Linked DNA regions of Homo sapiens: regions 1, 3, 4, 5, 6 and 7 are each linked to region 2. The links are contacts of gene promoters, found by promoter capture Hi-C in blood cells and fetal thymus (Javierre and others, 2016). All regions are on one chromosome and are shown on one strand. The core of a region is centred on a gene start or on the middle of the fragment in contact, and the rest is flanking DNA. Distances in the headings are between cores, read along the strand shown. Region 1 overlaps PARD3 (par-3 family cell polarity regulator). Region 2 holds the start of NRP1 (neuropilin 1). Region 3 overlaps PARD3 (par-3 family cell polarity regulator). Region 4 overlaps PARD3 (par-3 family cell polarity regulator). Region 5 overlaps PARD3 (par-3 family cell polarity regulator). Region 6 overlaps PARD3 (par-3 family cell polarity regulator). Region 7 overlaps PARD3 (par-3 family cell polarity regulator).

Region 1 (3,782 bases), core at 270-2,769, 1.3 Mb after region 2:
CTTGGGAATGGCTCACTCACATACTAGCAAAATGTCAAAATTTTTTATGGTATACAAATTTGATGTTGAAGAAAAAAGTAAAGAGTAATTTTTAAAATTCCCTGCCTTTGTTAAACTTACTTAACACCACTGCCCCCCATAAACCACAAAAATTGTAATGTTAATGGGCTTCTCTTAGCTTCTCCTATATTGTATTCTACTTTTAACCTTCAAGATAAAAAAAAACCTATCTGAAATGCATGTCAGTTCCACATAAACTGACCTTAATTCCAGGAAGTGTTCTATGATAAATATATTGTCAGTAAAGGTTTTAAATATTGCTACTAAAGATGTAATTATAGATGCTCAAGTTTTCGTACTATTGAAGTACATTAATTAAAACTTGGCACAGTTGAAATCAGAGAACATATGAAAGGAGAGTGACGTGCATTTCATATCGAGGGTAGCATAATTATTACTTTTGATAAAGATGTTCGGAAGAAGGCGAGAGTGCTGTGCCTGTAATAACCTTAATCATCATTCAATACAAAAGAACCAATCCATCAAAATCCAAAAGGATTTGCTTATTGTTATGCTTTTAGAAAGCTCATCAGGTATTTCCAAAAGCTTCCTAATGACAATAATTAAACATCTGGTAATGGTGACCTACTTGTGGCTGCTGAACTTCCTTGGATAGTCTTTTCCATTAATTATGTACATGCTGGGAACTGAGAGAGAATTTACATTATGAATAATAACTCAGGGCCGCAGGAGAAGTCAGAAACCGACAGGGGCAACTCCCTGCTGTCCTCACTGCTATCTGTATTAAGGCCTTGTTAGCGCTCTTGTATTTGGGAACAGATGCTACATAAAAATTGCAAAAGCATCAAGCTAAGGCATGCATGCATCTTGATGTAAACATGTTGTGAGGAAACAGCCTTCTAATAAACATTCAACACTGTGCCTAAGGGAGAGAAGAGACAAGCTGTCACATTTTCTACTTTTTACTCTGTGTAGAATTACGATCTGATGCAAACTTTGACCCTAAACTTATCAAATAAGGCCCAGGTCTGTTCTAGCCTTGGCAATTGCATAAATAAGAAAAGCCAGATCACAGCTGGGCACGATGGCTCATGTCCGTAATTCCAGCACCTCTGGGAGGGCTGATTGAGGCCATAAGTTTGAGATCAGCCTGGGCAACAGAGGAGATCCCACCTCTACCAAAAAAAAAAAAGTCAGAAAAGCCAGATCGAGAACATGCACACTTTCAAACATTTCATAGTTCCTTAAATTTCAGGGTGAAATGGGAGAGAAAGGTAGGAACTGAGACAATGATGTTTGTATTGGCCTGAAATTCATCTGGTGATGAAATAATTATTGTCCAAAAAAAAAGTCTACTTCGATCTATTTGACAATCACCTGATAACCATTTATTCTCATTGGATCTGTGTCCTTCCCCAAAGCCACATGATTTTAGTAATTAACACATCACTGTCACCTTTCTGCTTCTCAGTTTTGTTTTGTTTGTTTGTTTGTTTGTTTGTTTTGAGACGGAGTCTTGTTCTGTTGCCCAGACTGGAGTACAGTGGCACGATCTTGGCTCACTGCAACCTCCGCCTCCTGGGTTCAAGTGATTCTCCTGTCTCAGCCTCCCGAGTAGCTGGGATTACAGGCACACGCCACCACGCCTGGCTAATTTTTGTATTTTTAGTAGAGACGTGGTTTCGCCATGTTGGCCAAGCTGGTCTCAAATTCCTGACCTCAGGTGATCCGCCTGCCTGGGCCTCCCAAAGTGCTGGGATTACAGGCACGAGCCACCACACCTAGCCACTTCTCAGCTTTTTAAGAGATCAACAGCCAGGCGCGGTGGCTCACGCCTATAATCCCAGCACTTTGGGAGGCCGAGGTGGGCGGATCACGAGGTCAGGAGATCGAGACTGTCCTAGCTAACACAGTGAAACCCTGTCTCTACTGAAAATACAAAAAATTAGCCGGGCGTGGTTGCAGGCACCTGTAGTCCCAGCTACTTGGGAGGCTGAGGCAGGAGAATGGCCTGAACCTGGGAGGCGGAGCTTCCAGTGAGCCGAGATTGCGCCACTGCACTCCAGCCTGGGCGACAGATCAAGACTCCGTCTCAAAAAAAAAAAAAAGAATCCACAACATAAGTGGATTTATTCAAATGTTTTTTTAAAAATGTGTTTTATACCTTTTGGTAAAGATGTAAAAATAAGTACTAGTACTAATAACTAGATACTATTTTAAATTACAATATTCCTTAGAATAAATTCAATTTGCTGAATTCTGAATATCATTTAATAAATGCCAAAAATAAGGTCAGGATCGAGTAAGGAAAACAAATCACAAAACAAATCCTTAATATAAGGAAGAGGGTAAACAGGTAACTGCAGCACACCTACCACCCGCGGAACTGAGGAAATTCGGTTATGAGAACCTGAAGCTTGAAGGCGGCACCAGGGGCAGACGGTACCCACCCTCCGAGGAGAAGATGCTGGGGGCTGGGGCTGAGGCTGAGGCTGAGGCATGAGGAGCTTAGCAGAAGGACCTCGGTGCTGATTCTGTTAAGGGGGCCTAAAGATGTGGACAGGGGGAAAAAATCTAAAAACGAGAAGGAACTGCCAATTAATGACTATTGCTGGGCAATGCAGACAGGAACAGGAAGCAAACAAGGGCCATGTCCCCCCTCCTGCCTGCCAGGCTCCAGCTCCCTCTAAAGCTCCAGGGAGCAGCTAGCAAAGGAGACGTCTCCTCGAAAAGCAGAGCACAAATGGCTGAACTGCAGCTGAGAAATAACAACTTAATCCTGGTGCATTCTGAGCCTCAATTTCCTCACCTATAAAATGGACAAAACACCAGAGCCCATTCACAGAGTTCACCACGTGTGTTAAAATAAGTACAGCATTTATAATTGTGCATGTCACAGAAGACATGCTAAATTTATATATATTATTTTCAAAGTGTTTTAGTTTCTACAATTTCACTGCTTAGAATTTACCTACAAATTCCATGTTCTTAGTGAAGAGTAAGGCAATGCAAGCGCACACACAGTACTGGCTTGGTACACACCCTCAGGAATCAGATCCTGAAAGGCACACCCAGCACAAAGTGAGGAACCAGGAAACCTGCACCTCCCAAGAGGCTCTGCCTCCAAGGAGCCTTGACACACAGGACAAACCAACACATGTCATCTGCCCTGAGTTTCCTCCACTAAATAACAGAGCAAGAATAAAATTATTTCTAAGGGTTTTGTTCCCAACATTTAAAAATGTTAATTACAAAAACTTTTTAGTTTTTTTAATGATCTAATTTGCCACACTTGCAAAAAAGTAGAGAGGATAATTTATTGAACTCCTATGTATCACTCACTCAGCTGTAGTAATTATTAATCTTCGCCAAAACTGTTTCATTGCTTCACTTTTTTTATTTTTGGCTGGGGTATTTTAAAGGAAGTGCCACTCACATTGTAGCACCCAGAGGCCATTTCTTAATGGTTCATAGGATAATGCTAGATGATACATAATAACATGTAAATGAAGACATAATAGCATACATGAATAAAGGTGTATGAATTCTTTTCCTTAAGGTACACATCTAGATCACTTTTTATTTTCCCCCCACTGTGAATCAATTTACATTTTTAATGTAAAAGGATGGTGAAAATGACTCCACTGAAAAAGCCACCAAGCTCCACTCAGGATAATACTATTAATTTCTAATTCATACCACCTGACTCAGTAAAGCCTTACTTCTCTTCTTCCTGTAGTGCAAGTTAGGTACCTAGTTAG
Region 2 (3,745 bases), core at 621-3,120:
CGACATGGCTTTTGCTGGTAAAGCTCAACAACTAAAGCCAGATTTTCAGCATTCCCCAGATTTCTGCTAAGAAAACTAAGAAGTGTGTGTGTGTGTGTGTGTACTGCATATATATTTGTGTAGTTCACAACCTAAAGTCTGATAGCTCTTTGCATTGAGCTTCAAATCTATCTTGTGAACACCCCCACTATGGATTTAGTCTCAAGAGTTGTGGAGGACAGGGTTACTATAATTTCTAGTCCAACCATTTGAGCTCTTTCAGTTGGACGAGAATGCTATTTCATTCCCTGCCAGAGTATAGAAAGATGCTACCAGCTCAGGTTCATTAATAAATTGAATTCTACATTCATAATTTTTTGTGTCTTGCTTTCCTGCCAGATTATAGAAAAATGCCATCAACTTGGGCTCATTAATAAGCTGAATTCCATGTTCATAATTTTTTTTTTTGCATGTGTTTTGCTTTAAGCATCTCTTAAAATACTGCTTGGTAGCTGCTGAGGGAAATCCATTGCTAAAATCACAAAACCTTGAAAAAGCATATTAGAGAGATTAACTTCCATCATAAAGATGTGATTTAAATTCCTGTTGGTATGAGGCCCTCCACTTGCGGTCTCTTATTAAAACAATATACCACAGTAAGTAGTGGATGTTCTTTTCTTCTAATTACTGTGATTGAAATCTAAGCCAGACAAAAGTAAATATTTGATCATTAGTTAATAACAATTGCTGACGACTTACTGTAAAGATAATTGCATACCCTTGCCTGCACTTACTTTACAGTGTGAAGTCAAACATGCCTACAACCAGATCCCATTTTAAAACACATTATTTAGGTTACATGGTACTGTTTAGACCCCAGTATAGTTTTTCATTTACTTAACAGTGAGTGATTTTAAAAGCTAAGTGGAAGCTGCAACTAGCTTAGGGATTTTCAGATATCCTGGTGCCTTACACTGTATATGTCAGATTCCTGTATTGATACTATGTAACTTTCAGTCATACTCCAGACAGATTACGGAAGGTGTACAAAGGCGGGGGAGGGAGTTTCATCAACCCACAAACCGATATCTCTGGCCGTCACCCACCAGAGGAAACGGCTTAGGGGAGCAGCAAAGGAACCAGGAAGTAAGATCTCCTGGTAAAGTGTTCATTAACTTTCAACAGCCATCAGATTTTTGAAAGGGAGTCTCTTCTAATTGCCTTTGGGAGGAAACATTATTAAGATAATTGGCATGCTGATCTGGGAAGGTAGACAGCTCTGTCTTGTAACAGAGGTAAGGAAAAGCCCCACAGCCCAAGGATCAACGTCAGGAGGGAGCCCAAAGACCTGAAATCCTCCTGCTCTAAACCGCCTGATCTCATTTCTTCTTCTCTCCTCCCAGATAAAAGTTTCCTTCGCCCGGGAGTCGGTTGTTCCCGGCTGATCCCGGGAAGCCCCGCCTGAGCCCCGGTCCGGGGCGGGCAGCTGGGAGCCGGGGCGCCGCTGTCACCCGCGCCTCTGCCTGTCACTTACCGTTGCGAAAAGCGCCGGCCGGGGCGAGGACGAGGGCGAGCACGGCGCAGAGGAGCGGCAGCCCCCTCTCCATTCTCCCTTCTCCGGGTCCGCAGGCAGACGCGGGAGAACGAGGACGTGGGGGGAAATGCAGCAAAGAGGAGAATCTAAGCGATCCGAAGAGCCCCAACTCCGCCTAGAGCTGTACAATCCTCAGCCCGTCTTGGAGAAAAGAAAGCAGCGAGGCAATGCCTGGATCCGAGAGGAACGCTTCTCTTTTTGTGTCTCAAGTCGCCTGCATCCTGTCATTTAGCTCCGGCTTCCTCTCCCTTTTCCCACACTTGTTCCTCTTCCAGGAGCCACTGCCCGGGCCATGTCTCAAAAAAAAAAAAAAAAAAAAAAAAGGCCGGGGGGGGGCTGTGGGTGGGAGGGGGAGGAGGGAGGTAGGGCAACACACACCAAAGCCAATTTCCAGGAAGAAAAAAAAAAAATCCGGCTTGTTTCTGGACCCGTTGGAGCCGCGGAGCTGGCGCCCAGGGGAGGTCCGGGTGTCTGCGGGAAGGAGGGGAACGAGCAATGAAAAGATGAGCGGGAGACAGAGGAGTTTCACCAACTGCACCCCCGCCTCCCCTCCTGCGGCCTCCCCCCACTCCGGAGCCCTTCCCTCGCTTCCTCCCGCCCCTCTCCCCGCTTGGGCTCGCCTGTAATTGCCTGACAGGAGACTGGGAGGAACAACTTTCCCTCCGAGTGCTCTCCCCGTCCGTCTGTCTGTCTTTCCCAGAGACCCTGCAGGGATCTCCGCGGGAAGGAAGGCGCTGGGAGTCTGCGCCCCGGTCGCGTGGGTGCGGGCGTCGGAGGAAGGGGCGCGGAGGTCAGTGCCAGCCGCAGGGTCTGGCCAGCCCACCTCGCGTGCTCGCTCTGCACCCCTAGAGGGAGAGCTGGGCAGCTCCTGCAGGCGCAGATCCCGCCGCCGCGCAGTGCGGAGCGCCCGGGAGGTGGCGGCTGCTTCTCGCAACTTCAAATCCCGGGGCCCGCGCCCTCGGCGGCGAGGAACGCAGGGTCACCCCCTGCCACTCCTCATCGCGCCATCCTGAGACCTGTGGCGGGGAGCAGCGGGGCACCCCTGGACGCCCCTGCCCAGAGCTGGAGGGCGAGGAGGGGAAAGCCGGGCTGGAGTGGGAGCCGCACCGCGAAGCCGGGCGAGGGGCAGCAGTGTCGCTGTGGTGTGAAGCGAAGACAGACCGCCTGGGCGGGCGAGGCCGGGCTGCAGCCCCACGCGGCCTCCCTGGCCCGCATCAGGGCGCGCGGCTGGGTGCCCTCTGCGCGCCGCGGAGGCTTCATTGTTTCCCGAGATTTGGTGCCCGTTCCTCTGGGGCAGAGGGAACACCGGAGGGTGGGAGGTGCTGCGCCTTCCAAGCAGGGGGGCAATCGCCGCCCGACCCCGCCCAACCTTGTCTGGGAGCCCAGGTGCTAGGGAGGGGTGTGGAAATCAGGGGTCGGGCGGCCCCCGTTTCTCTGTGCATCCCGAGGGAGGGAAAGAGTGGCGGGGGAGGGGTGCTCTTCGCTGCGCCCTCTCAGTGTCCGCTCCCGGCCACAGACAACGTGCACGCCGGCCCTGGAGCTCCTGCCACCCCCACTTCCCACAGCGGCTCGTGCCCCCAGCCCGCTGGATGCCCCCCAGGCCCGTCCCCGAGGGTTTTCCGAGAAGTGCTGCAGGAAGCGTTTGTAGATGCGAAAAGCAAGGACATTTCTGGGAAGAAACAGGTTGCGGTCACCGATCAGGCCCCGGAGAAGGGTCAGTGCCCACGGGGCACCTCCCAGGGAGTTTGTGGGTAAGGTGAAAAGGTCACACGCCTCCTGGGGATTGGCGTCTACACACACAGCCAAAGTACAGCCTGATTCCTACCTGGCACAAATAGCTGGCCAAAGGGAGGTAGGAATGCTGGCAAGGAGACTCTGGTCAAAGGTTTTGGCGGAAGAAAAAGGGGCGGGCAGGGAGAAAGCCCAAGGCGCGCGGGCCCCAGGCCAGGACTGCGCGCTCGCGACTCGGGCTGGGAGCAGTGACGTGCGCCCCTCGGGGTGCAGGCCGTTCCCGGGCCAGTGGGAGGTGCACCCACGGAGCCCGCACTCGCCACTCTCTTGCCCCGGGTCAAGCCTGTCTTCTCCTCCCCACGCGCCTCGGGATTCCCAGTCGCCAAGTTGGAAACTCGGCCCCCCCGAGCGCCTCTTTCCTCTGCCAGTTTCCTCCTTCTT
Region 3 (3,872 bases), core at 459-2,958, 1.3 Mb after region 2:
TTATACCAGGTGTATAAAGCAATGTATAAGTTCCATGACAGACACAAATAAACCATACCAATATTCACCAGTCACAGAGATAATACATATTTTTATGATATAGAATGTGCATCATTTCTAAACACCTATTTAGATTAACTAGGATGAGCTCACGCACACACAGAGAAACACAAATGCACCTCCCAGCATTCAAACCTATAAATCAGTGAATATCTCAGGGCTATTAGAAAACATTAATTCAATTCCTCAAGCTAAATTACATTTCACAATTTCCATCAATGGACTTGAATAGAACCTTGAGATGATTAATGTTTTATCAGAGATTACCCAGACAGGGGAACAGAGAGCCTGCCATTTCAAATTTAGAATGTTAGTTCAGTACCACCTGCACAGGGAAGACATGAGCTACCATTCATATGAGCATTATTATTTAAATTTGGTAAAAACTTGAAAAAGTTCAACTTATTTAGGAATTCATTTCTGTCATTTAAGACTCGATATTGTTCTCTTGCTGGAAACCAAGAGACCGGAGATTTCTGAGAAGCCTTAGAAATCCCACTGTTAAAAAAGATGGATAATTCTTCTATGATCTGGGCTCCAGAGAGGAATAATGGGGCATGGTTTTGCAAGACTCTGCGACTCAGCTGTTTGAAGCTAACCCATTTTTCATAGATTTGCATTTATTACAGCCTACAATTATGACTTATGCCTCTCCCAAGCACTCAGACTATAGCTTCTTTTTGCACCTCAGAGAAAGCAAGGGTTTATTACTGTAATAGTCAATCATATGCCCTGAGGACAATACAGAGCACAGGGCACGTGTTTTGTTAGTAAGACTTTCTGTTCAACCTAAGCATGCTCTTGGAAGGACCTAGTATGTGTATAATCAATTTGTAAAAACAATGTCTTTGAAATGACCCACAGTTTCCACTTAATTTAATGACTATTACTTTTAAACTCATATTTCCAACTACCAGAAAGTCTTGAGGAAAGTGTGTACAGGCACTGCTGTTATAAAGAAGTGAACTAAATGGTCTTCTCCAATATTTTTATTAACTGTGTGATGCACTTATACCAGTATACATATCCATGAAGCCTGTATAAAAAGCTTTTCAACTCAGCTCTCACCTGGCTATGCAAGAGACCAGAAAACCTCAAGAATGGAGTAAGTGATGCCAGGAATTACGACGACAGGATTATACTACCTGAAAAGTCCTGAAGGTAGAGGAGGACGACAAAAAGAAAATCGGCTTCAAAATAAGTCAACCAGCCTGTGCAACATGGTGAGACCTCAACTCTACAAAATATACAAAAATTAGCCAGGTATGATGGCTCATGCCCGTAGTCTCAGCTACTTGAGAGGGTGAGGTGAGAGGATCACTTGTGCCCAGAGAGCTCAAGGCTATAGCAAACATCATACCACTGCACTCCAGGCTGGGCAAAAGTGTGAGACCCTGTCTCAAAAAAATAAAATAAAATAAAAATAAATAAAGTCAGTCAGATGAGGGCTTTTAACCAAGTTTTGGCATCTCCAGTGTGGTACATCTTGGCCATGTGACTCTCTTTAGTTTCTCCATGTAGCACCTTGGAGTCATTCTCTTTCTAAATACGGTAATGTCTAAAACACACAGGACAGAGCTCAGCTACAGTAGACATGTAGCAAAGGACTGTTATAATGATTAGTCTTAATTTACTTGCCAAACAACCAAACTTGAGACTGGAGTTCCACAGTTCAAGAACATGAATACTTTTTAAGGCTTAAAAGTAAAAACATTCTCTAAGAATATCACAATGTCAAGTTCAGACTACAGTTTGTGACATTCTGTCTCCCTTCTTCCATTCCGGCTTTGAAGAAGTCAAATTTGCCTCTCATTGAATGTTTAAGTCTTTCTTGTGGGATGGGGTAAGGAGCAAAGATTCATGAACTGAAACTACAATAGAAATTTCCATTGCAAAATATTAATGGCCTAAGTATTTACTGAGTATTCATTCAGAGTATTTGTTAAAAGTCATTTGAAAATGTAAAAATAAAAAAAATTTACTTAAAACTAGAACTTAAGTCTACTATAAAATGTGACTACATTCCATAAAGCACCTTACAAGGCACAATGCCATCAATTTGGTTAAATTTCAAGTTGATTTCACTACATTTTCTTATCCTAACGAGTACCCAGTGACACTCTACATGCCAATTACAGTGATTCTTTTCAGTCAGTCCCATCTAAACTATTTCAAGGAAGAAGGGTGTCTGGTACTATAACCTTCTAGGAAAAAGAATAAAGTTTCTGTATGCTGTAGTGGAATGAAATAAGCTTTTACATTGAAACAGACACAAAATAAAATTTTATTTTCACTTAGTTATTTCAAATATAAGGAATTCATTATTTAGGTTAAAAAAAAACACTCTGTCACAGTTTATACATTAGAATTTCCTTGGTTTTCTTTTTTCCTATTCTGCCTCAAATACTGAATAAATGAAGCCAGGTGCAGTGACTCACACCTGTAATCCCAGCACTTTGGGAGGCCAACGTGGGAGGATTGCTTAAGCCTAGGAGTTCGAGACCAGCCTCCCCAACATTGTGAGACCCTGTCTTTATAAAAATAAATAAATAAATGATGAAGATAAAAGCTTAATATTACCCTTGTATTGCATACCAACTTTTTCTTGAAAAACAATGGAAGTGGGGAAGTGGATACCATATTACTCTTTAAGAATCAAACTTTGTTCAAATTATTGCTTTTGTGCCCAAGCTCTAATTCAAGTTAAATGTGAGAGTCACTACAGATCAGATGAGATTCAGCATGCCTGTGGAAATAACTTTGGGAGCACTCAAGTTTGTAAGCAATATCCATCAAATCCAAATTTTTACTTTTTTTTTTTTAAGGAAATGTACTCACTTAGTTGACCATACCTGCATATGGAATTTCCTTCTATCACAAACACACAAATGTTTAAAGCCCTTGTATTAGTCTGATCTCACACTGTTATGAAGAAATACCTGAGACTGGGTAACTTATAAAGAAAAGAGGTTTAATCGACTCACAATTCCACACGGCTAGGGAGGACTCAGCAAGCTTACAATCATGGCGGAAGGCACCTCTTCACAAGATAGCACCAGAGAGAATTAGTGCAGAGCAAAGTGGGGAAAGCCCCTTATAAAACCACCAGATCTCGCAAGAACTCACACACTATCACAAGAACAGCATAGGGGAACTTCTCTCATGATCTCATCACCCTCCACGAGTTCCCTTCCCCAACACACGGGGATGACAATTTGGATTTCAACTCAAGATGAGATATGGGTGGGGACATAGAGCCAGACCATATCAGCCCTGCAGAAAATGCCAACACACACCACAGGTGCTAATCCAATTCCAGGCGCTGGGAGGATGAGACAGGGAAGGGCAGGGCTAGTGATTCCTTAGTGCAGCAATCTCAGAGAGTGGCAGAGATTTGCACTCACAATTTGTAATATATTACCTAAATCTTAAATAACTCTCAAGAGGGACTGCTAAGGAGAGTGGGGATTTAACTAGTTTTAGGTACATCAATAAGAAATTGCTCCCAGCTGTAGACTTAAATATAGCGAGTGGAAATTTTACACCCCCGTGCCAAAGATATTCCAAGAATTTGCCTCACCAAAGAAACACTGAAAACTACAGAAGGTTCTAGGCTCCTATCAGAATGGTCAAGGAAAAGATTCTGGGTGTTACGCTGGAGCAGGGAAAACATTAGTACTGAAAGGCATTAGCAAGAATATACTAGAGTTAAGAACAGTTGGGAAGGGTTTGGTGTTGTCAGTCGCCTTGGATTTGTGGTGATGGCAGGACCGGCATGGCAGCTGCTGCTCAGAGCACCTGACCTACAAGAA
Region 4 (3,831 bases), core at 1,013-3,512, 1.2 Mb after region 2:
GATGATCTGTCTACAATTGCAAGCCATTAATATAATTTTAATGTATGTATGAAATACAATAATCAACACATCTCCAATGTTCATGCAACTCATTTAATTCTTATAACAACTTTACAATGTAGGTACATCTCTTATCTTCATTTTAGAGATGGGTAAACTGAGGCCCAGAAAAGCCAAGAAACTTGCCCAAGTGCACAGAACTAATTAACTTCTGGAGCCAAGATCAGGCAGATTGGCTCTCAAGCCCATACTCACTATGCTGAGCAATACTGTCTATAAAATGAATAACATTAAAATAACTTTAGACCATCAGTGATATTAATTGCTGGCCAGAAATCTAAGATCATCTAGTAGCCAAGTATACTTCATCATGAAAGCTAGTTTAATTATATTAAGACAGTTCTTCGTCTGGTCACTACAGAAGACCAGATGGTCAGATAAAAGACAAAGGAGCAAGGCTTTTTTTTTTTTTTTTTTTTTTTTTTTGAGACAGTCTCGCTCTGTCACCCAGGCTGGAGTGCGGTGGCGCAATCTCAGCTCACTGCAGCCTCTGCCTCCTGGGTTCAAGCGATTCTCTTGCCTTGGCCTCTCGAGTAGCTGGGATTACAGGCGTGAGATACCACAACCAGCTACCTTTGTATTTTTAGTAGAGACAGGGTTTCACCATGTTGGCCATACTGGTCTCGAACTCCTGACCTCAAGTGATCCGCCCGCCTCGGCCTCCCAAGTGCTGGGATTAGAGATGTGAGCCACCGTACCCAGCCGGGACACTTTTATCTTAACTCTGTAAATAACTTGCTCTTTAACAACTTTGTGTTCCTGGTTCTTAAAATCCTCGTTTTTAAGAAGTGATTTTGATGCACAGTGTGCCTCACACCATGGCTTGATAAGCTGTTTTATCTTTATGGCATTCACTTTTCAGATGTGGAAAGACAGTGGCCCCTTCCCTTAAGATCCTGTGGAAATTGACAACACTAATCAGATCACCAGGTTATTTTTGAGGGGAGGAAAGCTTCAAAAAATGTGGAATTCAAATGATGGTGATAATTGGCTTTTCATAATTTGTTCCATTTTTCAAATTCAAGGAACAAAAAGTCGTGATTCAACTGATTTTCCATTGTGTCAAAAGGAAAATACACATCTTCATTTTTCAATGATTAAATACAGTCCAGTGAACTGGCACTGATGATCCAACTCAATACATTCCATCGATCCTGGAGCCACCCCAGTGATAACACAGGAGGACGGCTGTTCTTACTACATGAGGTCTGGAGCTGAGTCAACAATGTTTTGGGATGGGAATGAGGAATAATGTCCGGCCCTGTTACCACCACAACCAACAAATGACATTTTCTATTTTGCAAGAAGTATTGAGCTATTTTGTCTTTCTCAGAGATGGACAAACAGGGGGGCTTGTGTATTCCTGAAAGGGATGTGAAAACAACAGGAAGCACCTCTGTGGGACATTTCTATACAAGTCATTCAAAGCATCTGCAAAGAGGAAAGCCTTGCAGCCTTTCACAAGCTTAATCTTACAGCAAAACACAGATTTTGACTAATTCCAAAAACAGATTAAAACCCTTGAAAATGAGATCACATTCATAACTTGGTCTTTTCTGACCTGCAAGTGCAAAGATACCCTGGGGGAAGGCCAGCTGGAGGCTGAGAGGTACAATGACTAAAATGCATGGTAAATACATTATCCCGGAAATGCAGCCTGAACAGCTGACCAAAAATGGAAAGAAGGTGGTGCAAAACAAACCAAAATAAAAATTTACCTGTGTATTATCTCCACCCTCCCGCAAAAAAGCAGGTTTTAAATATGTGAGTTTTTTCTCTTACCTAAATGCACAAGAAATGTGTTCTTTTGCTTTTACAATAGAAAATATTACACAAAAGCCCCATCATAGTCTTATAGAGTTCTATCTAGATACTGACTAAATAAATTAACCAAAGTTTTTTTTACAATTGGCACCATCCATTCCCACATCAGGCCAAATAAAGCACAAGACACTGATGTGACTGCTGTTGAAGCCAATATTGCTTAAAGATAAGAATATATCTTTAAGTGTTATTATTAACACTCTTTTTTTGAATGTACTATTTTAAAGAGTAAAAATGACAAGAATATTTCTAAAATGGTTCAGGTACTTCCAGGATTTTTTTAAGTGTATTTTAAGATAACATTTAACTTCTTTGACTATAGTCACTTCCTCTATAAAGACTTGGAAATAAAGTATTGACAAGTTAAGAAAGACTGCCACATAGGAAACAAATAACAGGAAATGCACTTTATAGCTGTTAGTATAGTGCACCACTCAAAGAAAACACAAGGTTAATGAGATCTTGTTGAGCCAACCATTCCTAAAAGGAGGATTGCTAGGTGATGTGCAATAGAGAAAATGATACTGAACAAAGTACTGATATCAACATTTATATTTGTATTATGCGATGGACTGATTCTGCATGTGTTCTAAAAATAAATGCTAATCCACTATACAATTTTTTAAAAACAATGTCAAAATAAATGTTCACTTCAAAAATAATGGTAAAGAATGGAGACTAACGAGACTATTTTACATTAAAATATTAAAATATATACATATGCATGTGTGCTTAACATACTGTGATTACCAATATTATAAACATTTAAACCGCCAAGTCATTTCTGAAATAGTTTTAAACCTTAAGAAAAGTTGAGTCCTTTGGCGGCATTTTCTTTTTACACAGGTTTGACTTAGCATCAAACAAGTAGTCTAGTCAGATTTACAACCACTCACGGGTTAAATTCATCCACAGCACTTCCTACAAATCCTTAATTAACACAAGGACAGAGAGATACAAACATCAGTTATGCACTTTGACAATTTAATCTAATTTAAATTTTTCAGTGGCTTTTAAAGTAGTAATGACATTATTCATTTAAACAATAAGATAAAAATAGGAAGATCTGAAACCAGCAGCTACAGCTGGACGTGAAGCTATCAATATTGTACCAAGAAGCTTTGCACAATAGATGTGACATGAACAATTTCAAAATTATCCTCCAGCCATCTGTCCTCAGAATCGTGAGATGTAATTGTTGTAGGCTCTAGCTAGCAAGCATGATTAGTTCACTACGAGGAACGTGTCCTTGTATCCTATATCCAACAAAAGAGAATCTAGTTTTGTCAATGGGATAATGACTGCTCATGGGCAGGTTAAGGAACAAAACCAACTGTCTTCCATTCACTAGGCAGCTTTCTTCCTGTGGGGTAATCGAATATTCTGCTCTCTCACCTCTGCCTCCCAGTGTCCATCTGCAACCACCCTGAACCACATTTGAGTCTGTTATCCACAGTTCTTAGTGAAAAGGGAATGAGTTTTAGGAACAGCCTTCCAAAAATTGCATTTTATGCTGCTGGAATATCACTGACCATAAAGGTAAATCGAAATTTACCCTGCTAAAGTTAGTACTACAAGTGTGGTTGAAGTTTGCCACCATAATGATCACAGGTTTATATTCAACAAGTCATACGGTGATGTTTCCATTATTGGCAAATGAGATATCCTTTAAGAGGACTTAATTCATTAGGATTTTAAATACTTCTGTTTTGAATCAAAATCTTGCTCGTTTTGAAAGTTTCTAGACAACAAGAAAGAAAACTGGTCTCTTTGACAATTTTACCAAAAAACCGCTACAAATTTTATTTCATGGAATTTATAGAAATAAGATATAAAAATCATAGGGGTTTAATTTTTACAAAGACTACAGAGATTATATTCATTTTCATAAGAAACAAAATTCTGAGTCTTAAGAATAATGATTTACACACTCTTGCAGCTGTGGGG
Region 5 (3,729 bases), core at 1,167-3,666, 1.2 Mb after region 2:
AGAGAAACGTGATGATGGCCAGAGAAATACTACACTGCCCACCTTGAAGACAAACAAAGGGAGTCATGAGCCAAGGAAAGTGAGCAGCATTTAGAAGGCAAGGATATAGATTCTCCCCTAGAGCCTCGAGAAAGGAGCACGGTTAACACACTGATTTTATGGCATTCTGACCCATGTCAGCCTTCTACCAAGCAGAATTGCCAGGTAATGAATTTGCATTGTTTTCAGCCACTTATGCCTGCTCTGCCAGATGTAGGACAAATAAAGAGATAAGGTATACAACTTCCAGAACACAATAAGTATGTTTACTATGAGCTTTTATTAAATTATATTGTGATGGATGATAAATACGTTCTACTTTTGTAAATATGAGAATAGTTTCAAGAGTAAAGAAGACAGATGCAAAGCTCAATCGCTGTGTCTTGGATCTACACAGGAATAGTAATGGGAAAAAGAACACGGAAAGAAGACAGCATGCTAGAAAATGCATGTTCAACATAGATATGGCACAAAATGAAGACCTTCCACAGACGCTCTACATCCTCCTCTAGAGGGCCCCACAGAAACACAAAGTCGTTTTTATTATTTCACTTAACAGGAAGCAAAGCCGAGCCTCAGAGAGATGAATCTGACTAGCATATAAATAAATACAGAATAAATTTGAGATGGGAAATCAAGTCAAAGATCCTATTTTCTCCAAATCTTCCTGCTCTGGAGCATCTAACATATCCACAGCACAGGGCACTGGCAGGCTACAAACTAAGATTATCTGCAGACCTCTGAATAGGATTCTGTTCGTTTTTGATTAATCAAACGTAATAACCTGCCTTTACCAAATTAATGCAATTTTGATGACACCACTTAAAATTTTTCTGAACATATCTGAGGGTAATGAAGATCATCACAGACAATTCATCCTGCTGGTGCCATCACTCAGTCTTAAACAGAGGGCTTAAAAGGATCAAAGAACTTGCAGATTCTACCCTCATACAGGAAAATGAAAGCTGATTTAAGCCAAGTCTAAGTGAAATCTCAAAGACCTCTAGGTTCAAACTCCACACACCCTGAGAAGCCATTTTAATGTGACACCCTGTGAGCAATCTCTCACTTTCCATTGCTTTCTTCATGTATAAGCTAGACATATCCAGGGAAAGTCAATTATGATGGGTGTCATTGGACACTCAATGTCAATATATGCAATTGTTTTCCTATGAAATAAAGACTTATAATTCTTTTAAAAAGGCATCATATTTTGGCCCTGGATAAAGTACAAAACATGTTGGAGAATACTAGAAACAAGAATAAACTTGAAGATGCCTCCATGACCCTCTCTTCATCTAAGAAACATGAGCAGCCTCCATGAGTCAAGCCAGATCCAGCGGCTTAGTCAACAAGAAGCACAACACAGAAAGTGCGTGTTTGAGAGATGACAGGGAGATGTCATGGGCAGATGTGCCTATAAAGAAGAATGTAACAGAAGAGAATAGAAAGAAAATTCAACAGATATGGGAGAACTAGAGCATAATGAAATAAATTTCAAAAACTTAACAATAAAACTAAAGGAGTTGGAGATACATGCATTTTTTAAGTTTGAAGTCAGGCTGTTCCATGATGTATAATTCTAAACTATCACTAATTCAAAAATCACTTTTCGTCTCCATAGTTTATAAATTATAGATTTCTATAATTAGGATCATACCTACCAATACATTTAAATTCTTCTGCCCTTTCACTCAAGGATGTCCAAAAAAATTATAAATTAGATCAAGTATTTGAGTTTCTGAATTCCCCTTTTTCTATCTCTTATTTTTTTTTAAGATTTCATTTACACTTGTCTCCCATAAAGCACACGTGATAACCTGTGGCACTTACATAAAAGAAAAACTAACCAAACACTAACATGCTTTTGTAGATTATCACAGTGTATTATCCAACATAAGAAAGGGAGCTAAATGAGATCAATCTTTAATAAAGCCATTTCCAGCAAAATATCATGCAGGAGAGGGCAGAACATTCCCGCTGCTTCCTGAACAACACAGGAGACCACCATCATCATAAGCTTCTATCTGTCAATTGCCAAAGGGAGACCTGTCCGACAAGAGCTAATGCCATCCTTTAAGAAGAAAGTATTTCTTGAACACTCATGCCTAATAGAGATATTCCACTGCATCTGGAAACCACAGTGAAAGATATTCACCTATGATACTCCCTAGCCCTGATGCTTACATTTCAGAGCTGAAATTTAATTCTGTTGTCCCTCAGGGTGACATAGTCTATCACCCACTGAGCCTTCAGACTAATTAGATTCCCAGTTTAAGACTTATGTTCAACTAATAGCCTTGAGTATGTCAACCACAAACCACAATGAAAATATGCAAATTCGTATAGCCATCAGCTAACTGACCCACCTGCCAAATATAATATAAACCCCTCTTGCTCTACTCTCTATCATGAGTGCCACTGTTACACTGGTATCCACCCATGAGGTTACAACTACATAACACTACTGCTTAAGTATTAATAAAAAGTAGGATAGCACAGTAAGACAGAACAAAATAATTCAGAAATGGGCTAATCACATACAGATAGGTTGACTCCAAACTGGAGGAAGTGGCACGAGTTGTGATTTTATCATGAACACATGCAGTGTTCCCTCAAAGAGAACATGGTAAGACTGGCAAATGGGCAAGATGAATAATCTCAGAAGCAAATGCGATGATGTAGTAACTAATTATTACGTAGACACAACAAAAAGGGAACTAAAAATCAATTTGTAAGCTTTCTGATGACTGAATTTACTTTAATGACACAGAGACAATACTAAATCCTTAATCATTCTCTGAGCCTTACTTGCTAGCATGGTTCATTAAAAACTCATTTAAATAGAGCTAGTGTTTAACTGGACGAGTAAGCAAAAGGATATATTTGAACCAATGATGTTTTGTAATCATAGTAATACAAACTATACCAATAAAAACTCGCTACAGAACAAGAATCTTAAGCTTGCCACTGGAAAACTTTAAATGTTATGCATGTGAGATTAATTCCACGCTTCATCAGCATATTAAGAAGGGTATATACTGTCTGATAAAAAAGACCTAAAACTTAGAAAAGAACACTAAAATACCATGAGCACATTAAAGACTAGCGAATGTTCCTACTGGCTAAGCCAAGAATGGCAAAGTGTGGATAGACTTTCTCGTACACAGTACCAGGAAACTTGACCTCAAACCCGTCTCAGGCTCTAGCCCCATGGTTTGTGATATTAGAGCAGTACCTCACCTATGGGTATATGTTCCAGCCTTGCCACTCTGCCAACCTTCCAACATATCTAAGAGGGAGTAACGTGGAAACAGGGGTCAACAGCATAGTGTTCTAATCTGTGAACAATTTAGCTTGACAATTCATATGTTTACGTGTATCCAGAAATGCCTGCATTAACAAATGATAAATAAGAGAATCCCTCAATAGTAACTCTTTAAATTAACAACACAGTCTGCAGTAGGGATTTTGCTTAAAAGAAAAAAAAAAGATTTTTTTTTTCTAAGAGGCGTGAGCCTCTGTGCCCGGCCAAAATATTTTTATTAATCAAAAGTCCACCAGGCATGGTGGGTCATGCCTGTAATTCCAGCACTTTGGGAGGTAGAGGTAGGTAGATCATGAGGTCAAGAGATGGAGACCATCCTGGCCAACATGGTGAAACCTCGTCTCTACTAAAAATACAAAAAT
Region 6 (3,932 bases), core at 1,340-3,839, 1.1 Mb after region 2:
ACAGATTAAGTAGCTTACTCCAGATTGCAGTTAATAAGTATGATGCTGAGATCCATCTTGGCTCTGCACATGAATAACACCCCTGATGCTACCCCTTCATTTTCAAGCAGAGTGTCATCTTAATGTGAGCATCAATACACATGATCAAAGACAGAATTAAACAATGAATGACACAATGCTGATTCAGAAAGTAGGGGGAGTCTAGCATTGTAGGAATATCTGAAGTCAGAAGGAACAGAATTGATTTTAAAGGAAGGCACAGCAGTCCACCAGAGCACAAAATATGCATGAGATCATGGTAGGAGATGATGCCTAAAAAAGTTAAATAGAAATTTGTGCCGGGTGTGGTAGCTCAGGCTGGGTGCAAGGGGCTCACGCCTGTAATCCCAGCACTTTGGGAGGCCAAGGCGGGTGATCACCTGATGTCAGGAGTTCAAGACCAGTCTGGCCAACATGGTGAAACCCTGTCTCTTCTAAAAATACAAAATTAGCTAGGCATGGTGGTGTGTGCCTGTAATCCCAGCTACTTGGGAGGCTGAGGCAACAGAATTGCTTGAACCTGGGAGGCAGAAGTTGCAGTGAGCCAAGATCACACCACTGCACTCCAGCTTGGGTGACAGGAGCAAAACTCTGTCTCAAAAAAAAAAAAAAAAAAAAAAAAAAATGCCGGGTATGGTGGCTCATGCCTGTAATCCCAGCAGTTTGGGAGGCCGAGGCGGGTGGATCATTAGGTCAGAAGATCGAGACCATCCTGGCTAACACGGTGAAACCCCGTATCTACTAAAAAAATTAGCTGGGCGTGGTGGCGGGCACCTGTAGTCCCAGCTACTCGGGAGGCTGAGGCAGGAGAATGGCGTGAACCTGAGAGGCAGAGCTTGCAGTGAGCCGAGATCACGCCACTGCACTCTAGCCTGGGCTACAGAGTGAGACTCTGTCTCAAAAAAAAAAAAAAAAAAAAAAAAAAAAAAGAATGCAGAGAACCCAGAATATCAAGATAATAAATTTGATTTAACTTAAATCAAAATACAGTAGGGAGTGTTTTGCATGCTTTTAAACTTGCAGGTGAGGAAATCCAAGTGGCAATTTGGAAGACTAAGCAAATAGGAAAACGCAGAATTGATTTTAAAAACAAACAGATGGAGAGGGAGACAAATATTACATAGGTCTAGTCAAAAGGAATATGGCTGAAATGAGAACAGGTGCTGTGAAAATAGAAAGATATACACGTGCACATACACACACACACACACACACACACACACACACACACACAGAGGAGTAAAGGTATAATATATAGTACCTGGCACTAGGTAAGACATAAAAAATTAGAGAGAAGATAATAAGAGAGTAAGTTTGAAGCCTGGGAGACACAGAGCAAAATTAAAAGAAACAAGAAAAGAATGGCCAATCATAGAATTTTCTGGGCGTAGGAAACACCAGAAATTAACTACTCATGATTTCACAGGGGTAAGGTAATTCTGAACACATAGGTTGCTATATATGGCCCAGATCCATGGACAATGAGGTTCAGAACTGGCAGTTTCAAGTCACATTGCCCTTTTTATTAGGGACCACTTCCCATCTCAGGGAAAACATAAAGATGGTTTACCTTCACCCATGTTGAATCTGAGTGATCAAAAAGATATCTAGACAGTAGTGACCAGCCCATCCTTGCAGGTAAGCACAAGTCTGAAGGAACAGGAAGAGGAACTAAAGTAACATAAAAGTTCACCAAGGAAGAGCATGTAAAAACCCATCCAGAGAAATGACCAGCACTCAGGGAGGTAGAGCAAAAAGAAGAAATTTCTATAAATAATATGAATGAGCTTAGAAACAGAATGTCAGAGGAGTGAAGAGGAAAGCTTCTCCAGGGTGCCACAGATCCAAAGTGCTATTTCAGCCATTTACTAACAGCAGGGGGAAAACTGCACATGTACCTTAAAGTACATTTAAAGTACCTTAAATAAAATGTTTACTTTCAATAAAAAATTTCTCTGCATATTTTACCATTTCAAATATATTTAAGGAACTAAGACACAGGATTCTACCTTTTATTAAAATCTACAACCAAAGGAGTAACAGTTAACTGTTCTGTAATAATGTGTAATCTAACATAACTTACTCCCAAGTCAAAAGCAAAAACTTAAAAATTCAAATAGTCATTATATTGAGCCACAGAAAATACACCAAGTCACTGCCTAAGTCATGTCCAATATTAGACAACTAAATTACCAAAAAGTTTCACAGATTGCTCAATGGAAAAACCTTTTAAAAATAACAAATACATTATTTTATTTGAATCAAGACCTATTTTTCTTGGCCAACCTACAAAAATATGTTTCTCTTTCTAAGAGTTCAGGACATTAATACCAAAGTCTCAGCCAGAAGTTTATGAAAGTATTACTGAACTGGATCTGTTTATGATTATAATACAAAGTTCTCAGGAAAATTAGTCCCCCAAGGGACTTAAAATATGAGTAATTCAAAAAGCCCAGATTTCTGCTGATATAATCAAACTAACATTCCTTGCCCTCCCCTCAAACTTTCTCCAATTTAATCTAGAGGAGATTCTTGAAAAGTTAATCATTCAATGTAAGAAAATATATACTATCTATGGAATAAGATTTTTTTATCAAAATGGTTGCTGTAAAAATGTTTTAAGAGAAGAACATTTCCAGATATACAAATTACAAGCAGAAAGCCCTTTATAATAACAAATGTATTCAATAAAAGCATGGTTACGCTAGGCTGCAAACGTATGTGACAGAGACCCAATGCCTCCACACATTGAGTCATGCCTCCCTCGAAAACAAAGCAAATTAAAAACTCAGAGGAACAGATATGGGTCCTGCCCTCTTTAAAAAGAAAGACATAATTAAAATGAAATTTGGAAAGTGCAAGGATGGGAAAGAATAAGACACTATTATGTGTGCCTCACATTGGTTTTGGCAGGGATCGGGTATGGCTAAGAATAATGAGCTGAAGGAGGCAGGTGGCAGGAGATCAGAACAGCAGATCCTAGGCAGGAAAAAGGGAAGAGTTGGCCAGCATGTTCAAAGACCCAGAGATGCAAGAACAGGGTAGATCTGGAGACTAGAGTGAGTTCAGCAGGGCTGCCTAACCTGGGAATGCACCCTGGAAGCAGCTGCGATCCACATGGTGAAGGAACATCAGGAAGACTCAAAAAGGACAAAAACACCAATATCAGCCCTCACACTTAGAGTATTTCATGTGTTTTAGCTACTGTCTTAAGAGCTTTCCATGACTCATCTTATCTCATCCTCACAATCCTCTGAAATATATCACAATAGATTATGAAGCTTGCTCTGACACTTAGAAAGTTCAGCAGCTTGGTCAGCATAAGACATGCTGTGCAATTCCAATCCAGGTTGCTGCAACTTCAAGCAGCTGTTAACCACTTCACCCACGGTGTTCCTGGGTATGGTCAGAGCCCCAGAGTGTGTCAAGCAGTGCTCCTGACCACACATCAGTCTAGCCACAGTGGACAAAGAGATGTAAACAGGGAGGAGGGCTGCAGTGTTGTGTAGTGACCCAGGTGAGAGCTGTTGACAGCTTGGACTTTGGAAGTAGTAATGAAGATGCAGAGGGATGAATGAATTTAAAAATACAATTGCCAAGATTAGAGGCATACAGAAAAGAGGAGGAAAAAGTAAAGAACACTCTAAATATCAATGGCTGATAAAAGGTGCAATATCAGGATCCTGGACTGTCTTTTCCTTAGTGAAAATAGCCTCAAAATAACATCATAACTATCACATTCACACACCAGCACATATTCACATTCACACGAGGCTTTGCTATGAGCTGCACAAATTCTGTATTTATTTTGATCAAGCATAAAATTAATTTAATTAATTAGGACAAGTTGACATATAAGAGATAGAAAACCAAAATAAATAAAGGTATCAGGG
Region 7 (4,111 bases), core at 251-2,750, 1.3 Mb after region 2:
TGAGCTAAGATCGTGCTACTGCACTCCAGCCTGGGTGACAGGGTGAGACTCTCTCAAAAAAAATTAAAAAAAAATTAAAAAAAGCAGAACAATCATACATCCAGCAACCCCACTGCTGCATATACACCCAATGGAAAAGAAATCAGCACATCAACGAAATATCTGCGTTCCCATGTTCACTGCGGCCTTATTCACAATAGACAAAATATTGGAATCAATCTAAGTGTCCAGCAACTGATGAACAGGTAAAGAAAACGTGGTCTATACACACAATTGAATACTATTCAGGCAACATGAATGACCCTGGAGGACGTTATGTGAAGTGAAATAAGTTAGGTACAGAAAGATAAATACAGCATGTTCTCACTTGTACATGGAAGCTAAAAAAGTTGATCTGGCTGGCTGTGGTGGCTCATGCCTGTAATCCCAGCACTTTTTGGGAGACCAAGGAAGGAGGACTGCTTCAGCCCAGGAGTTTGGGACCAACCTGGGCAACACAGGGAGAACCATCTCTACCAAAAAAACAAAAGCCAGGTATGGTGGCATGGGTCTATGGTCTCAGCTACTCAGGACACTGAGGTGGAAGAAACATATGAGCATGGGAGGTGGAGGCTGCAATGAACCAAGATCACACCACTGCACTCCAGCTTGGGCAACAGAGCACCTGTCTCAAAAAAAAAAAAAAAAAAATAACTAAATTAAAAAGTTGATCTTGGCCGGGGGCGGTGGCTCACACATGTAATCGTAGCACTTTAGGAGGCCAAGGCGGGGATCTCTTGAGGTCAGGAGTTCAAAACCAGCCTGGCCAACAAGGTGAACCCCATCTTTACTAAAAATACAAAAAAATTAGCCAGGCATGGTGGCAGACACCTGTAATCCCAGCTACTCAGGAGGCTGAGGGAGGAGAATCACTTGAACACGGGAGGTGGAGGCTGCAGTGAGCCGAGATCACGCACCATTACACTCCAGCCTGGGCGACAGAGCAAGACTCTGTCTCAAAAAATAAATAAATAAATAAAAATAAAAAGTTGATCTCATAGAAGTAGAGAGTAAGCCAGTGCTTACCAGAGACTGGGAAGGGGAAGGTAGGAAGAGATTGGTTAACAGACACAAAATTACAGCTAGATAGGAAGAATTAAGTTCTAGTGGTCTAAGGCCCTGTAGGGTGAAAACAAATACTAATGTATTGTGTATTTTCAAATGGCTGGAAGAGAAAATTTTTAATGTTCCCAATACAAAGAAATGAAAAATGTTTGAAGTGACTGATATACTACTTACCCTAATTTGACCATTACACATCACTTAAATATCACACCGTATGCCATAAATATGTATAATTTTTGTCAAAAATAATAAAATAATGTTTAAAGTACATTTCAATTTGTCTATAGATAACACAGTATTTGGTCCACAAGACCACAACCAAGTGATTATTTCTCAAATTAAAAGCAAAGCACACACAGACTGAAGGCAAGGGAGACATGAGTAGGCAGCCTTCATGGGACTGGCTTCATAAATTTAAACTCACTAAAGGGATGCCTCCTTCAAGGAATAAAGGGCTACACTCTAGGGGCTCAGCCTAGAGAGATCAAAATTATACATTTATTTTTTTTTACTTTTTTATTTCTCAGATTGGGTTAAAACTGTGAGAGAGAAAACTTTTAAAACCTACAGTTTGTTTTGAAATTTTAAAAGTAAAACATTTTAAAGTATTAGCTATGGCTTCTCTATACACTGTGGCACTCAACTGTATTCTGATGGAAAAATCACTTTCTTTTAATAGAGGACCGTCAAAACTATGACCTTTCTAAACTATAACCACAGGGCTGTTTAAAACATTAAAAACAAAGCACAAATCCTCTACCAGTTCCTCTGAAATTTGGGCTTCCTAATCTGTATTTAAATTTTTAAGAACTTTAAACATAGCTGTATTTATTAAGTGTTCAACGATTTTCCATTAACAATGACCTACACTCAATTAATGAATCCAAATAAAAAAGTCTTTTAACCTAAGACCTCCCAATATCAGAAGATGTGCAAGTCTCCAAGCTCCTTAGAAATTCTTAGTTTGCTTCAAAATAGTGACTCCCGCAAACACTGAAATAGATTCCTTTTCCAGCATACTTAAAATAGCTTTTCTTAACTCTTGGTGACATCAAGTGACATCTTGTACTGTGAAGTCAGAATGTAAGAACGCTTCCACAACAGTGGCAAAGTAAGTCACAATTCAGGTAAAAATGAGAAAGTGACATCTCCAAAAACAAAGTAATAGCACTCTGGTAAACATGCCTATCAATTCATTTTAAAAAAAAAACTGGACCCAAAAAATAATAGACCCAAACTGAACTAATGGTATGTATCAATCAGGAAATAGATGAGCCACTTTCAAAACTTCAAATGTCTTCTTAGCTAGGACATCCTTCCTGACTGACTGTTTCCAATAGGATTTCCAAAATATCACACTCTACACATCTAAGATCACACCACTTTCCACCCGTTCCACATTCCTGTCTGGCAGAGGCACTGGCTTTTTCCAACCTGCTGGAGTCATGCACACCTCCTCCTCTCTCCTCAGTTACACAGGTGACTCCTCAACACTAAGGTAATATTTAAGGTCAACCACAATATGATCCCAGTCTCCTTTCTGGTTTCACTTGGTGCCACTTCCCTAAGGTTTCCTCTTTGTCCTCAGAGCACACCTCGTGATTCTTAGAAATTAGCTTTCACTCATCCCACAGCCCCTCACTGGATGCTCTAGAGTTCACCAATATAGTCCCATAAAGCCTTTTTTTTTTTTCTTTTTTTTTTTGAGACAGAGTCTCAGTCTGTCACCCAGGCTGGAGTACAGTGGCATGATCTTGGCTCACTGCAACTTCCACCTCCTGGGTTCAAGCAATTCTTGTGCCTCACCTTCCCAAGTAGCTGAAATTACAGGCATGCACCACCACGCCTGGCTAAATTTTGTATTTTTGGTAGAGACGGGGTTTCACGTGTTGGCCAGGCTGGTCTCGAACTGCTGACCTCAAGTGATCTGTCCGCCTCAGCCTCCCAAAGTGCTGGGATTACAGATGTGAGCCATCATGCCCGGCCCACAGTCCCATAAAGTCTTTACGGTGTAGCTCAACTCCACCTTCTCCTAAAAAATTGTGTTGTTCTCTCTTCAACTACAATGGTGATGCTGACACTTATGAAGTTTATTGGCATTCAAATATTTATTGAATGAATAAATAGCTTAAATATCCTGCATTTTATTGTATAGAATTATAATGTTATTTGCCAACTTTTTTCTTTTTTAATTTTTATTTTACCACCACCACCATGAGATTGGAATACTCCAGCATGGGTAGTCATCTCGTTTCTCACACTGCTGAATCTGTCTGCTGTGATGCTCACATTGTTATGGAAACAGTAGGTGCTCAAATATTTAATGGAGTCTCAGAATATAAATAGCATTTTAGGATCATCTGGTTTAACTACCAGTTAAAAATCTTTGAATGTCCTCTACAATATTTCTACTGCTCACCCTTTACCTGAACTCCCTTCCTCCACAGGCAGCCAACCTCAATGTTTGAGAGCTCTGACTTCAGGAAACTGTTCCTGACACTGGCTCTCCAGCCTTCTCCCTGATATTGTATAAAATAAGCTTACCTCTCTCTGTTTCTGCATAATATAATAGCAGAATGAACCCTTATGAAGGTTCATCCCTTCATGCATTCACTCAACAAATACCTTGAGGCCAGGCACCTGGGATATAAAGAACACACACACCACCACCACCTCCTCCTCAGAGACCCCACTCTCATGGAGTTAAAAATAAGCATAAAATATAGATATTGTTCAAATAATCACCCATGCCATATATGCCCAGATCATCAACCACTGGCATGTGGTATAATCTCACCTCCCCTTGGTTATTCTGTGTTCTTGCTCCCAAATGCCACCAATTTATTCAGAAGACATCACCCACCTCCCTGACAACCAAGATATGACTCCTACTCCTCCACTGGTAGCCAAAGCAGTGAAACCCACGCCCATTTGTGATCCCAGATCCCATTTATAAGGTCCAAATTCACCATTCCTGGAAACCAAGAGGTTTTTTGTGATGTAGGAA

What was found. The method cuts DNA at HindIII sites, captures the fragments that hold promoters and counts their contacts. A CHiCAGO score of 5 or more calls a contact.
Region 1: a contact is called between a fragment that was not itself captured here and the fragment with the promoter of NRP1 in region 2, in 5 of 17 cell types (monocytes, megakaryocytes, erythroblasts and 2 more). The highest score is 7.7, in monocytes.
Region 3: a fragment that was not itself captured here is called in contact with the fragment with the promoter of NRP1 in region 2 in 2 of 17 cell types (erythroblasts and fetal thymus); the score reaches 8.1 in erythroblasts.
Region 4: a contact is called between a fragment that was not itself captured here and the fragment with the promoter of NRP1 in region 2, in 2 of 17 cell types (erythroblasts and megakaryocytes). The highest score is 6.3, in erythroblasts.
Region 5: a contact is called between a fragment that was not itself captured here and the fragment with the promoter of NRP1 in region 2, in 2 of 17 cell types (megakaryocytes and endothelial precursors). The highest score is 5.4, in megakaryocytes.
Region 6: a fragment that was not itself captured here is called in contact with the fragment with the promoter of NRP1 in region 2 in 1 of 17 cell types (M0 macrophages); the score reaches 5.1 in M0 macrophages.
Region 7: a contact is called between a fragment that was not itself captured here and the fragment with the promoter of NRP1 in region 2, in 6 of 17 cell types (naive CD8 T cells, megakaryocytes, fetal thymus and 3 more). The highest score is 8.3, in naive CD8 T cells.

The regions. Positions count from the first base shown.
Region 1 is chr10:34,656,031-34,659,812 of GRCh38, forward strand. The region is part of intron 2 of PARD3 (par-3 family cell polarity regulator); the gene reads right to left. Among named protein-coding and RNA genes, the nearest start is that of PARD3, 160 kb to the right of the region's middle. The HindIII fragment of the contact is 1,831 bases long and covers 605-2,435 here.
Region 2 is chr10:33,332,797-33,336,541 of GRCh38, forward strand. It overlaps NRP1 (neuropilin 1), which reads right to left and starts at 1,871. Exons shown (of 17, transcript NM_003873.7): 1 at 1,514-1,871. The coding sequence starts at 1,586. The HindIII fragment of the contact is 8,759 bases long and covers 1-3,745 here.
Region 3 is chr10:34,593,367-34,597,238 of GRCh38, forward strand. The region is part of intron 2 of PARD3 (par-3 family cell polarity regulator); the gene reads right to left. Among named protein-coding and RNA genes, the nearest start is that of PARD3, 220 kb to the right of the region's middle. The HindIII fragment of the contact is 1,204 bases long and covers 1,107-2,310 here.
Region 4 is chr10:34,564,802-34,568,632 of GRCh38, forward strand. The region is part of intron 2 of PARD3 (par-3 family cell polarity regulator); the gene reads right to left. Among named protein-coding and RNA genes, the nearest start is that of PARD3, 250 kb to the right of the region's middle. The HindIII fragment of the contact is 1,478 bases long and covers 1,524-3,001 here.
Region 5 is chr10:34,522,204-34,525,932 of GRCh38, forward strand. All of the region lies in intron 2 of PARD3 (par-3 family cell polarity regulator), which reads right to left. Among named protein-coding and RNA genes, the nearest start is that of PARD3, 290 kb to the right of the region's middle. The HindIII fragment of the contact is 719 bases long and covers 2,058-2,776 here.
Region 6 is chr10:34,431,104-34,435,035 of GRCh38, forward strand. The region is part of intron 5 of PARD3 (par-3 family cell polarity regulator); the gene reads right to left. Among named protein-coding and RNA genes, the nearest start is that of PARD3, 380 kb to the right of the region's middle. The HindIII fragment of the contact is 1,458 bases long and covers 1,861-3,318 here.
Region 7 is chr10:34,616,260-34,620,370 of GRCh38, forward strand. All of the region lies in intron 2 of PARD3 (par-3 family cell polarity regulator), which reads right to left. Among named protein-coding and RNA genes, the nearest start is that of PARD3, 200 kb to the right of the region's middle. The HindIII fragment of the contact is 4,281 bases long and covers 1-3,641 here.